Regions from separate parts of the Homo sapiens genome. Here region 1 is linked to region 2. The links are contacts of gene promoters, found by promoter capture Hi-C in human tissues and cell types (Jung and others, 2019). All regions are on one chromosome and are shown on one strand. The core of a region is centred on a gene start or on the middle of the fragment in contact, and the rest is flanking DNA. Distances in the headings are between cores, read along the strand shown.

Region 1 (5,661 bases), core at 781-3,280, 170 kb after region 2:
TTAAAATAGGCCAGATGCAGTGGCTCATGCCTGTAATCCCAGCACTTTGGGAGGCCAAGGCAGGAGGATTGCTCAAGTCCAGGAGTTCGAGACCAGCCTGGGCAACAAAGTGAGACCCCATCTCTACAAAAAAATAATAATTAAAAAAAAATAGCCAGGCATAGCAGCATGCGCCTGTTGTCCCAGCTACTAGGGAAGCTGAGGTGGGAGAATCACTTGAGCCTATGAGTTCGAGACTGCAATGAGTCATGATCATGCCACTGCACTCCAGCCTGGGCAACAAAAAAAAAAAATTAAAACCAGAAGGTGCAAGAATAGTACAATGAAATACCACATACTCTTTACCTAGATTTATCAATTCCACATTTTGCCACATTTGCCTTATCTGTCTTTGCTAAACTATTTGAGAGGAAACTTCAAAAACTTTTCAGTCTAGGCAACATAGCAGGACCTTGTCTCTACTAAAAATAAAAATAAAAAATTAGCTGGGCATGGTGGCACACGCCTGCAGTCCCAGCTACTCAGGAGGCTGAGGTGGGAGGATTGCTTGAGCCCAGGAGATTGAAGCTGTAGCTCTGCTTATGCCTCTGCACTCCAGCCTGGGTAACAGAGGGAGACCCTGTCTGGGAAGGGAGGGAAACAAACTTTTATCCCTAAGTGCTTTACTCTTTTATCACAAAAGTTTGTGTCACAGTTTTTTGGTCCCTGAGGTTACACAGTGAAGCACACTTAGTCTCTGCCAACAGAGAAGATAAGAATACATGTAAAAATAACAGCTATAAATATGCCAGCATTGGGTTAAGTGCCTTTTCATGCCCTTTCTCCTTTAGTCTGTACAACCTTATGGGGTAGGTCCTGTGTTCCCCATTTCACACAGAGGCTGAAACAAAGCAGTTTAAAAACTTCCCATGGGTCGGGCACGGTAGCTCACGCCTGTAATCCCAGCACTTTGGGAGGCCGAGGCAGGCGGATCTTGAGGTCAGGAGATCGAGACCATCCTGGCTAACATGGTGAAACCCCGTCTCTACTAAAAATACAAAAAAAATTAGCCAGGCGTGGTGGTGGGCACCTGCAGTCCCAGCTACTCAGGCGCAAACCCGGGAGGCAGAGCTTGCAGTGAGCCGAGATTGCGCCACTGCACTCCAGCCTAGGTGACAGAACGAGACTCCATCTCAAAAAAAAAAAAAAAACTTCCCATGGCCGGCCACGGTGGCTGACGCCTGTAATCCCAGCACTTTGGGAGGCCGAGGCAGTTGGATCACCTGAGGTCGGGAGTTCGAGACCAGCCTGACCAAGATGAAGAAACCCCGTCTCTACTAAAAATCCAAAATTAATCAGGTGTGGTGGCGCATGCCTGTAATTCCACCTACTTGGGAGGCTGAGGCAGGAGGATCGCTTGAACCCAGGAGACGGAGGTTGCGGTAAGCCAGTATTGCGCCATTGCACTCCAGCCTGGGCAACAAGAGCGAAACTCTGTCTCAAAAAAAAAAAAAAAAAAAAAAAGCTTCCCACAAGGTCACACAAATAAGCAACAACATTTTAATTTAAACTAGGAGGCGAGTGTCAGGACAGAACCACCAATAATGTGCTCCCAGGGTGGCCAATCAGAGGCAGGAGAGGGCATGGCTGCTTGTGGCATCAGGGCAACCTTTTGGAAGCATGCTATTTGATTTGGCCATGTGGCATGGTGGGGAAAGCATTTCAGGCTAAGGAAATAACGTGAAGCACAGGGGAAAGATATCCCAAAGTATGGAAGGGAGCAGGAGCAGGATTATAGCATGCTTGAAAGGCGTTGGTGAGGAATGAGGCTGGTGTGGGTGGGACCACGTCACAGAGGAGGTTCTGGGTGGCCTTGGCCAGTCTCATCATAGGGGAGCTTTTGGATGCACATATTTCTACCCATGCTAACCCTCCTGTCCACTCAGCGGATCCTAGAACCAGATGACTTCCTGGATGACCTCGATGATGAAGACTATGAAGAAGATACTCCCAAGCGTCGGGGAAAGGGGAAATCCAAGGTGAGGGGCCAGCGTGCTGCCTGCATCTTGGGACAGGGTGGCCTAGGGAATTCCTTATTTTATTTCAAGTGAGATTAGCGGCCACTTCCAAAAGAGTCTAACTCCTCAGGCCCAGCTACCAAAATAAGGGTGTCTCTTTGCTCTTCTTGGCAGGGTAAGGGTGTGGGCAGTGCCCGTAAGAAGCTGGATGCTTCCATCCTGGAGGACCGGGATAAGCCCTATGCCTGTGACAGTGAGTGCCTCACAAGTGGGTGGGTAGACCTTGCCTTGGACCCAGCTCCTGCTCTGGATATGAGAGGAGGGAGGGTTGTGTTTTTGCCCAGAGTATTAAAACAAACCTGGGCTCTTGTCCTGCCTGCTGACTGCTTCCGTCTGAGACCCCTGGGAGGCCTGGGTCCCTGCTATATGACGGGTGGGACCTGCATGCTCTGGGAAAGATTTCTGCCATCCTCTGGGGTAGGGTTGCTTGTGGGGGCCACAGCAGGCAGGGTTGGCCTCTCAACAGATGGCCTGCAGGTCTCCTGGCCTCAGTTAAGCCAGGGCCCCAGGGGTCTGACACTGAGTTTTTCAACGTCTGTTCTCTTTTTCTTTCTGTCTGCCTTGCCCCACTTCTGTCCCTCCACCCTGGGAGCACCATCGCCGCTGGGGTTTCTCTCTCGTTTGCTCTGCTTTCCTGCTGCTGCTGCTCCTGTCTCAAGTGTATCAAGGCCTTCTTCTCATGACTTTTCTTTCTGTCTTTCAGATAGTTTCAAACAAAAGCATACCTCGAAAGCGCCCCAGAGAGGTAGCTCTCTCAACTTTTCAGACTTGTGGTTTTCCTTTCCCTTTTTCCCTCTTCCCTTGTTCCTCCTGCCTTTCTCATTTCCTGGGATGCTAGCTTTAAAATCTCTGGAATGGCATGGGGGTAGGAGCAGTGGAATTTCTGCTGTGCTCTACTCCTCAAAGTCCTGAAGGCTGCCTTTACCACTGCTTGTTTCCCACAAACCTGCTCCTAGAGCTGCTCGGCCCAGTGCATGGGGTGGCTTCAGAAGCATTATCAGGAGCCCATTACAATCAGACCCTTCCGCTCCCTCCCCAGACCAGGCAGCTGGTGGTCAGCTCATGTTCCCCACTGCCCCACCACCTCCTCCTGCCATCCTCTCTCCCCACTCCTTTCCTGCTGGCCCCCTTGCCCTTCTTGGTATTACTTCTCAAGATGACAAAATGCCTCATGGGGATCTGCTTTCCTTGCTGATTGGCAGGCCTGGACAGGGCAATTACATGGGAGTGTGCTTGAATTTCTTTGGGGACCAACTGCCCAACTGGCTTCATTGATAGGCTATCCCCAAGAAACCCATCCCCTGCTTGTTTACCCACATTCAGGGGAGATGGGCTCCATGGTGTGTGGGGTAGCATGAGCCTCCCACATTTACTGAGGGGTAAAAAAGTTTGGAGTCTTATCCACTTTTCCCCCTTCCTGCCACCCCAAAGATATAGGAATATCCTTCCCTTTCCTGACCTGGAGCGTCCCAGACTGTTAGTATATCCCAGAGCAACTAACTGGTGATGGGGCAAGGGCTAAGCCCCCCAAAAGTCAACATGGAAGAGCAGTGGTGGCCATGGGGTTGGAGTTCAGGAGGGAAAAGAGCCCCAGAAGCTAGAGAGCCCCACGGCCTGATGCTCCTGGCTGAGGGGAAGTGGCCGTCACTCAAGGCCTGTCCCAGAGTGGAGCTGCTAGGGGAAGGGATGGTTGCCCTCTGCCTCAGGTGGAGCCCCCACAGCTTGCAGGGATGGGGACATGGCACTCTTGTATCCTAACACCTTTCTCTGCAATCTTCTTCCCACTCAGTTTGTGGAAAACGTTACAAGAACCGACCAGGCCTCAGTTACCACTATGCCCACTCCCACTTGGCTGAGGAGGAGGGCGAGGACAAGGAAGACTCTCAACCACCCACTCCTGTTTCCCAGAGGTCTGAGGAGCAGAAATGTAAGCTGAGGTGTCAGAAGTGGTGGGCAAGCAGAAGTTGGCCTGGTTATGAAAACCACTCCTTGCATGGGTGTTGAGTGGCTCAGGGACCCCCATGGGTGTCATCAAAACTCTTTCTCTCTGTAGCCAAAAAGGGTCCTGATGGATTGGCCTTGCCCAACAACTACTGTGACTTCTGCCTGGGGGACTCAAAGATTAACAAGAAGACGGGACAACCCGAGGAGCTGGTGTCCTGTTCTGACTGTGGCCGCTCAGGTACTGCTTCCCGTGAAGGCTGCTGCTTTGCCCAGTCCCCAAGGGGCTCTTGGCTTGCTGGCCTCTAGGGCTGTCATAACCAGCCCACCTCGCTTTTCCTAACCAAGAGAAGATGTAGCCACAGGCAGGAGCTCCTCTCTTCCCCCCGCATTTCCGACTGTCTGTCTCACTCACTTCCCCCACTACAGGGCATCCATCTTGCCTCCAATTTACCCCCGTGATGATGGCGGCAGTGAAGACATACCGCTGGCAGTGCATCGAGTGCAAATGTTGCAATATCTGCGGCACCTCCGAGAATGACGTGTGTATCCCCGCCCCCTCCTCAGCATGGCTCCTTCTGGGCTTTTACTGCTGTTTGCACAGTTCCCTCTAAAGTGAGCTTTCTTTTAAAAAGGGAGCAGGATCCCTCCCACATGCCACACGCCCCTCCCTAGCATCTCAGTCAGAACTCTGATTTGTTGCCAGATATATATTGAGTGCTGATTTTATGTCAGACACTGTTCTAGTCACTAAAGATGCTAAAGACAAACAAGGTCCCTGCCTCATGAGATTTACATTCTTACAGGAACAACAATAAGCAAGGATGTAAATGAGATTTGTATAATGTGCCATGAAAAAAACGAAATCAGTACTGTGGCAGAGAATAATTGCATAAGTGATTTATTTTGATGGTCAGGTATGGCTCTTCTGGGAGGGTGATGCTGGTGTTGAAATTTTGGTGATACCAAGGAGCCAGTCAAGATTTGGAGGTAGAGGAATCCCAGGAAAGGAGCAGCCAGCGCCAAGGCCTTATGTTGGACAAGCCAGATGACAGGGCATGGGAGAGTATGGTGGGCAATGAGATGAGAGAGGCAAGCACTGCCAGATCTCTGGGGCCTCGGGTTTTATTCTAGGTACAACAGGACACTGTTGAAGGGTTTTACTCGGGAAGTGACATGGTTATTTATGTATTTATTTATTTACTTTTTTTTTTTGAGATGGAGTCTTGCTCTGTCGCCCAGGCTGGAGTACAGTGGCACAATCTCAGCTCACTGCAACCTCTGCCTCCTGGGTTCAAGTGATTCTCCTGCCTCAGCCTCCCAAGTAGCTGGGATTACAGACACGTGCCACCACACCCGGCTAATTTTGTATTTTTAGTAGAGATGGGGTTTCTCCATGTTTGCCAGGCTGGTATCGAACTCCTGACCTCCGGTGATCCGCCTGCCTCAGCCTCCCAAAGTGCTGGGATTATAGGCGTGAGCCACTGCACCCAGCTATTTATTTATTCTTTATGTATTTATTTATTTATTTTGAGACAGAGTCTCTCTGTCATCCAGGCTGGAGTGCAGTGACGCGATCTTAGCTCACTAAAACCTTTCCCTTCAGGCTCAAGCAGTACAATCCTCCCACCTCAGCCTCCCGGGTAGCTGGGACCACAGATGC
Region 2 (6,839 bases), core at 2,040-4,539:
TTCTTGCTTATTGACTTTATTTTTAGGAGTAAACAAATTACTATATATTTTTTTCTTTACCTGGATTCTGGTTAGGTAATTATACACTTTTTTTTCTTCCTTCCTTCCCTCCCTCCCTTCTTTCTTTCTTCTCCTTCCTTTTTCCTTTTATTTTTCTCTTCCTGCCTCTTTCCTTTCCTTTATTTTCCCTCCCCTCCTTCCCCTCCTCTTCTTACCGACAGGATCTCCCTATGTTGCCCAGACCAGCACTACAGGTGCACACCACCACATCCGGCTGTATATTTTTAAAATCACTACATAAATTCTCTTTCTCCCTAGTTATGCTTTTTGTCCAAAGTTGTGTTTTTTTGTTTGTTTTTTGTTTTTTTTTTTTTTTGAGACAAGTTCTCACTCTGTCACCCAGGCTGGAGTGCAGTGGTACAATCTTGGCTCACCAAAACCTCTGCCTTCTAGGCTCAAGCGATTCTCCTGCCACAGCCTCCCAAGTAGCTGGGATTACAGGCATTCGCCACTACCACCCACCTAATTTTTGTATTTTTAGTAGAAATGGAATTTCACCATGTTGGCCAGGCTGGTCTTGAACTCCTGACCTCAAATGATCTACCTGCCTCGGCCTCCCAACGTGCTGGGATTACAGGCATAAGCCACCGCGCCCGGCCTAAAGTTGTTTTAATATATTAGTGTAGTTATCCCAGCTTTCTTTTAGTAATTGCATATTATTTTTTCTATCTTTATATTTTGAAATTTTTAATATTCTTATTTATTTATTTATTCATGTTTTAGAGACAGGGTCTTGCTGTGTCACCCAGGCTGGGTAGAATGGCATGATAATAGCTCACTGCAGCCTTGAACTCCTGGGCTCAAGTGATCCTCCCACCTCAGCCTCTTGAGTAGATAGGACTGCAGTCACGTGCCACCATGCCAGGCTAGTTTATTTTTGGTAGAGATGGGGCCTTGATGTATTGCCCAGGTTAGTCTCTAACTCCTGAACTCAAATGATCCTCCTGTCTCGGCCTCCAAAAAGTGCTGAGATTATAGGCGTGAGCCAATGGACCTGGCCATATATATATTTTTTGAGCTGGTAGTATGTTATTATGTTTTATGTGTATTCTTTTATATCCTTTTACGTGTATCCTTTATAGCATGCAATATTAATATATGATTTTACAAATTATATATACATTTACATGAATATAAATTTTATAAATAGTATATTAGTTAGCATAGAATAAATTTTGCTGTGATAATTGTAGCAGGCAGAATAATGGACTCCCAAAGATGGCTACATTTCACTTCCCAGACCTGAGAATATGTTATCTCACATGGCAAAAAAGACTTTGCAGATGGTTAAGGATCTTTTTTTGAGACCAAGTCTTGCTCTGTTGCCCAGACTGGAGTGCAATGGCATGATCTCAGCTCACTGCAACCTCCACCCCCAGGGCTCAAGCAATTCTCCTGCCTCAGCCTCCCGAGTAGTTAGGATTACAGGCATGCACCACCATGCCCCGCTAATTTTTGTATTTTTAGTAGAGGAGGGGTTTTGCCATGTTTACCAGGCTGGTCTTGAACTCCTGACCTCAGGTGATCTGCTCTCCTCTGCCTCCCACAATGCTGGGATTACAGGGGTAAGCCACCTCTCCCAGCCAAGTTAAGGATCTTGAGATGGGGAGATTATCTGGGCAGATTGAAGAGCCCAGTGAATCATGGGATTCTGAAAAGTGAAAGAGAAAGGCTGGGCATGGTGGCTCATGCCTGTAATCCCAGCATTCTGGGAGGCCAAGGCGGGTGGATCATGAGGTCAGGAGAACAAAACAAAACAAAAAAATTGCCAGGCATGGCGGCACATGCCTGTAGTCCCAGCTACTCGGGAGGCTGAGGCAGGAGAATTGCTTGAGCCCTGGAGGTGGAAGTTGCAGGGAGCCGGGATTGGGCCACTGCACTCCGGCCTGGGCAACACAGCGAGACTCCGTCTCAAAAAAAAAAAAAAAAAAAGTAAAAACAAATATTCTCCCCAGTGTGGGAGATCGGTGTCAGATCTCCAGGGGTGGCACTGAAGGAAATCAGCCTGAAGGCCCTCCCAAAGTTAAAGTGACTAGCCCACTCCCAGGCTTCTTTTTGGTACACCTTCCTGATCTCTAACCTTAATTACTGGGGGAGGAGGAGAACAGTTGAAAACACAGCTGGTCTAGGAGATTCATTCGGTTTCATGGAACACCTTCTCTGTGCAGGCAGCGTCCAGGAACAGCTGTAGACCACACAGCCAGGCTACCCAGCGTGTGGGCCCAGCAGCCAGGCTGGAACTCTATCTCTACTTACCAGCTGAGTGGCTGGCAGGAAGTTACTCAGCCTGTCGGTCAGCAACCCAAACTCTGTGTGTTAGTTGTTTGTTCGCTGACAAAATGAGGCTTCTCATCATTCTCATCAACTTCACGGGCTTGCTGTGAGGAACACGTGAGCTGATTCCATCACAGACTCCTCAGTAGGCAGCAGTAGGTGTTTAGTGAACGGGCTATGGATGCTGCCCCACTCACTACTTCCTTTCTAGGGGAGGCCGACTTCAAATGCGTGCACACACACAAACAGGATGGCCTGATGCAGACCAGCTGGTCTAGAAAGGCCTTCACGGCCTCAGGGAGCCTGGGAGGCGGCCTGGGGGAGACCATGAAACAGCAGATACACCAGAGACCAGAGATCAGAGAGAAAACAAAGGACCCAGAGATCCACAGACATCCAGACACCAGAGGCAACAAGAAACTGAGAGACTCAGAGGCCCACTGAGACCCAGGCAGCTTGTTCTGTGTTACGAGGGGAAAAATAAAATAAGAAACAAAAGAGAGACTCGGGGGGCCTCAGTGAAACCTAGAGACTCAAGGAGGCCAGGAGATTCAGAGACACCCATAGAGAGCCAGAGACCCTGCCCTAGCAAGGCACAATCAATGAAAAAAAACTCGCCCACCAGGCCCTCGCAGTCCGGGTCTCATATCCCGGCTCAGCACCTTGGCGCTGCATTTGTCAAGAGGGGAACAGGGATCCTAGCTCCCTGCCTGTCCTATGGGGCCTTAGGCCCTGGGGTCCAGCTGGCCTGCCTTCACCCCTCTTGTAGTTGATGAAGCTTTGGAGAGGCTTTCAAACCCTGGGGAGCCACAGCTGGGTGCCGACTGGACTCACTGGCAGAGAGGCAGGCGGTGAAGGCCAAGCCTCGCCCCCCAGGAAGGCCCTGATTGGTGGACGGGCTGCTTTGGGCAGGGCCGCCCTCAGGCTATATAAGCGCACTCGCGGCGGCGTTGGTGTTATGCTCTGGGCCATTCCTGAGCTCGGGTAAGGCTCGCTGCAGGAGGAGGCTGGGTTGCTTGCGGGCGCCTAGATGGAGGGGCCCAGATTGGCCCTGGGGTGGTCGACCGCACGTTCTCCTCGGCCCCGTGGTTGGCTTCTCTCTCTCAGGGATGAGGGTGGGTTTAGGACGGGAGCTTGAAATGTTTGAAGTGGCCCCATCAACTTGCTCTAAATCCAGGTATTTTTCTAATTTCATTCCTCCCTGAGGGCCTCAGTTTCCCCTCGGTGTAAGGGATCAGTGGCCCTTTCAACTCTGCTTTGGTGAGGGGTCGGGGGTGGTTGTGAGTTGGGGCCTAGAGGAGCAGTTAAACTCTTGGGTTTTTTTTTTCTTTTTTTTTGGCCAGGCGCAGTGGCTCACGCCTGCAATCCCAGCACTTTGGGAGGTCAGGAGTGTGAGACCAGCCTGGCCAACACGGTGAAACCCTGTCTCTACCAAAAAAATACAAAAAAAATTAGCCGGGCGTGGTGGCATGGCGCATGCCTGTAATCCCAGCTACTCGGGAGGCTCAGGCTGGAGAATCAGTTGAACCCGGGAGGCGGAGGTTGCAGTGAGCCGAGATCGCGCCACTGCACTCCAGTCTGGGCGACAGAGAGAGACTGTGTCTCAAAACAAACAAACAAAAACCAAAAAACCTCTTGGGGTTTTGGAGACCAAGGGCTTCACTTTTAACCGGCTGTTAGGCCTCAGCTTCAGTTTCCTCGTTTGACGACCGGTCTGAGTTAAACTTACCTCCTTACCAGGATGGAATAAGATAAGGCCCTTAAGCACAGCCCCAGGCACTTAGGAAGCCCTCAGCGGTGCTTGTTGCTGCTGTTACTCTGGCCTGTCCTGGGGTGCCAGGAGGAGGGTGAGGGTGCCACACCCTCACCTATAGCAACTCTTTGCTTCTTTTCTGGCCTCCCCACTCTTGTTGCATCCCGGCTGCCTTCTGTTCTGAGCCCCCAAGTCTCTGCACCCACCCCTCCACCGTCCTGGCCCCTGTCACCACCCTCTTGATTTGTGAGCATCACGGGGGTACATGCTAAGTCCTGAGCCTCCTTTCTCTACAGGTCACCCTGCCCCATCTCCATCTCCTATGAGATGAGTGACTCCCAAGACCCCACCACTTCCCCTGTAGTTACCACCCAGGTAGAGCTGGGGGGCTGCAGCCGGCAAGGTGGGGGCAATGGGTTCCTCCGTTTTCGCCAGCACCAGGAGGTCCAGGCCTTCCTCAGCCTTCTGGGTGAGTTTGGAGGGCTGGCACGGGAGGGGCCGTGAGGTCAAGTGTGAAAGCAGATGTGAAGTGTGGGGTCTCACCTGCCTGTACAGACATCTGAGACCTCTGACCCTCTCCCTCTCAGGTATCCCAGCTTAGGCAGGTGGGAGGGGTGTCCTCTCAGAAACTGGATTCAGGGCCAGGCACCGTGAGTCATACCTATAATCCCAACATTTTGGGAGGCTGAAATGGGAGTATCACTTCAGGCCAGGAGTTCAAGACCAGCCTGGTCAACATAGTGAGACTCCATTTCTATTTATATTAAGAAAGAGAGAGAGAAAGAGAAAAAGGGAGAAAAAGAGAAAGAGAGAGAGGGTTCAGTGGTGGCTTGGGCTTTGGAGCTTCTGATGCCACTCTTCTCCATGGAGGTGGTGGTAACCTGCGTCCTGTCATGTCTTCTCTACCCTCAGAGGACAGTTTTGTCCAGGAATTCCTCTCCAAAGACCCCTGCTTCCAGATTTCAGATAAGGTGAGGGAGTACAGGCTGGGGGTCTCTTGAGGGTCAGGTTGAGTTGGTGGGAATTGAGTGCCCTGGTCTGGTAGGGAGAGCCACTCACCTTCCATCCTTACCCCCTCATCTTTGCACACCACTTCCCACCATTTTACTGACTTTCTTTCCCTGCAGCAAAACCTCCCTGGGTGCAAATGAACCTGGGTGCAAGCCCCTCCTCCTCAGAGAATAACTAACCCCCCACCCCGATCTGTCTCTGCAGTATCTCCTGGCCATGGTGCTGGTCTACTTCCAGCGCGCCCACCTGAAGCTCAGCGAGTATACCCACAGCAGCCTGTTCTTGGCCCTGTGAGTGGTGGGGGCAGGCAGTGGAGGCATTTGCTGGAGGTGTCAGATGGGACAGGGCAGATGTGTGGCCTCTGCTCCCTGACCTTGTGCCTCTGTGGCTAGGTACCTTGCAAACGACATGGAGGAGGACCTGGAGGGCCCCAAATGTGAGATTTTTCCATGGGCCCTGGGAAAAGATTGGTGTTTACGAGTGGGGAAATTCCTGCACCAGAGGGATAAGCTTTGGGCACGGATGGGTTTCCGGGCTGTTGTGAGCCGCCAGTGCTGTGAGGAGGTGAGGCTGGGAGGCAACCTGGGGTGTGGGGAAGGCTGGGGTTCCCACCCCATTTACTGTCCACTCTGCTCCTCCCAGGTCATGGCAAAGGAGCCATTCCACTGGGCTTGGACTCGGGACCGGCGCCCCCACCATGGTGGGGTTCAGAGGGTCTGTCCACAGGTCCCTGTTCGCCTTCCCCGGGGCCCTGGCCTCTCGCCGCCCCACTGTTCCCCCTGTGGTTTGCCCCAGCACTGCAGCAGCCACTTGCTTAAGCCTGTGTCATCCAAGTGCCCTTCTCTGACCTCTGAATGTCATCGCCCTCCCTCCCAAAATTATCTCTCAAGGGTCAAAAACGCCTGGGGTGGGGACTTTCTCATCGTCTTGCCTCCCCAGATGCAACTGGAACCAGGCACCTACTCCCTCCGCAGTGAGTGCAGGATGGGACAGGAGCTGGGGGCTGGTGTGGGAGCTTGGGAGGCAGGAGTGAGGACCAACAATATGAGAGAGAGGGCCATGGGCCTGGGGTCGACGTGCTGCCCCTCCCGTGTGAGCTTGGCAGGTTTCTTCTCTGAGCCTCACTCTTTCCTCTCCCCAGTCTTCCCAAAGCCTCCGGCACGCCCTGGGCACTGAAGCTCTGCAGGGTGAAGAACAGCACGCCTGCTGGCCCACTGACTGACACACCATTGGCTGTGCTCCCACCCCTGCCCCTTCCTCCCAGCCTGCAGCTTGTGCCCACTCTGGTGCCAGTCCCCTCTAATAAATTCATGTCCACAGGACACCAACTGTGCTTAGGTCCTGGCCTGGTTCCTTGACCCAAGGTTGGGGTGGGGAGGGGGTATCTACCAGGGTTACAACATGTGAGCACAGGCTCTGTAACAGCTTGGCCCCTTCCCATTGGTGGCCAGTTATTCTGAGCCTCAGTTTCATCTCTGTGCTATCCATGCCTATGGATGATGAGATCTACACAGTCTAGATGGGATTAAATGAGATGAGGTATCTGCAGCCCTTAGAAGAGGGCCAGGGAGCCGAACGTGGTGGCTCACACCTGTAATCCCAGCACTTTGGGAGGCTGAGCCGGGTGGATCACTTGAGGTCAGGAGTTCAAAAACAGCCTGGCCAACATGGTGAAACCCCTTTGCTACTAAAAATACAGAAACTAGCCAGGCATGGTGGCAGGTGCCTATAATCCCAGCTA

The links. Contacts are between HindIII fragments. The study calls those that stand out against the background at their distance.
Region 1: a contact is called between a fragment that was not itself captured here and the fragment with the promoter of SPDYC in region 2, in 2 of the 25 tissues and cell types used here (dorsolateral prefrontal cortex and spleen).

The regions. Positions count from the first base shown.
Region 1 is chr11:65,341,820-65,347,480 of GRCh38, forward strand. It overlaps DPF2 (double PHD fingers 2), which reads left to right. Exons shown (of 11, transcript NM_006268.5): 5 at 1,926-2,018; 6 at 2,172-2,250; 7 at 3,847-3,984; 8 at 4,111-4,239; 9 at 4,428-4,540. Among named protein-coding and RNA genes, the nearest start is that of TIGD3, 10 kb to the right of the region's middle. The HindIII fragment of the contact is 7,351 bases long and covers 1-5,661 here.
Region 2 is chr11:65,166,944-65,173,782 of GRCh38, forward strand. SPDYC (speedy/RINGO cell cycle regulator family member C) reads left to right here and starts at 3,290. Exons shown (of 7, transcript NM_001008778.3): 1 at 3,290-3,318; 2 at 4,384-4,556; 3 at 5,000-5,058; 4 at 5,303-5,388; 5 at 5,491-5,662; 6 at 5,741-6,071; 7 at 6,240-6,431. The coding sequence starts at 4,415. The coding sequence ends at 6,274. The HindIII fragment of the contact is 3,474 bases long and covers 887-4,360 here.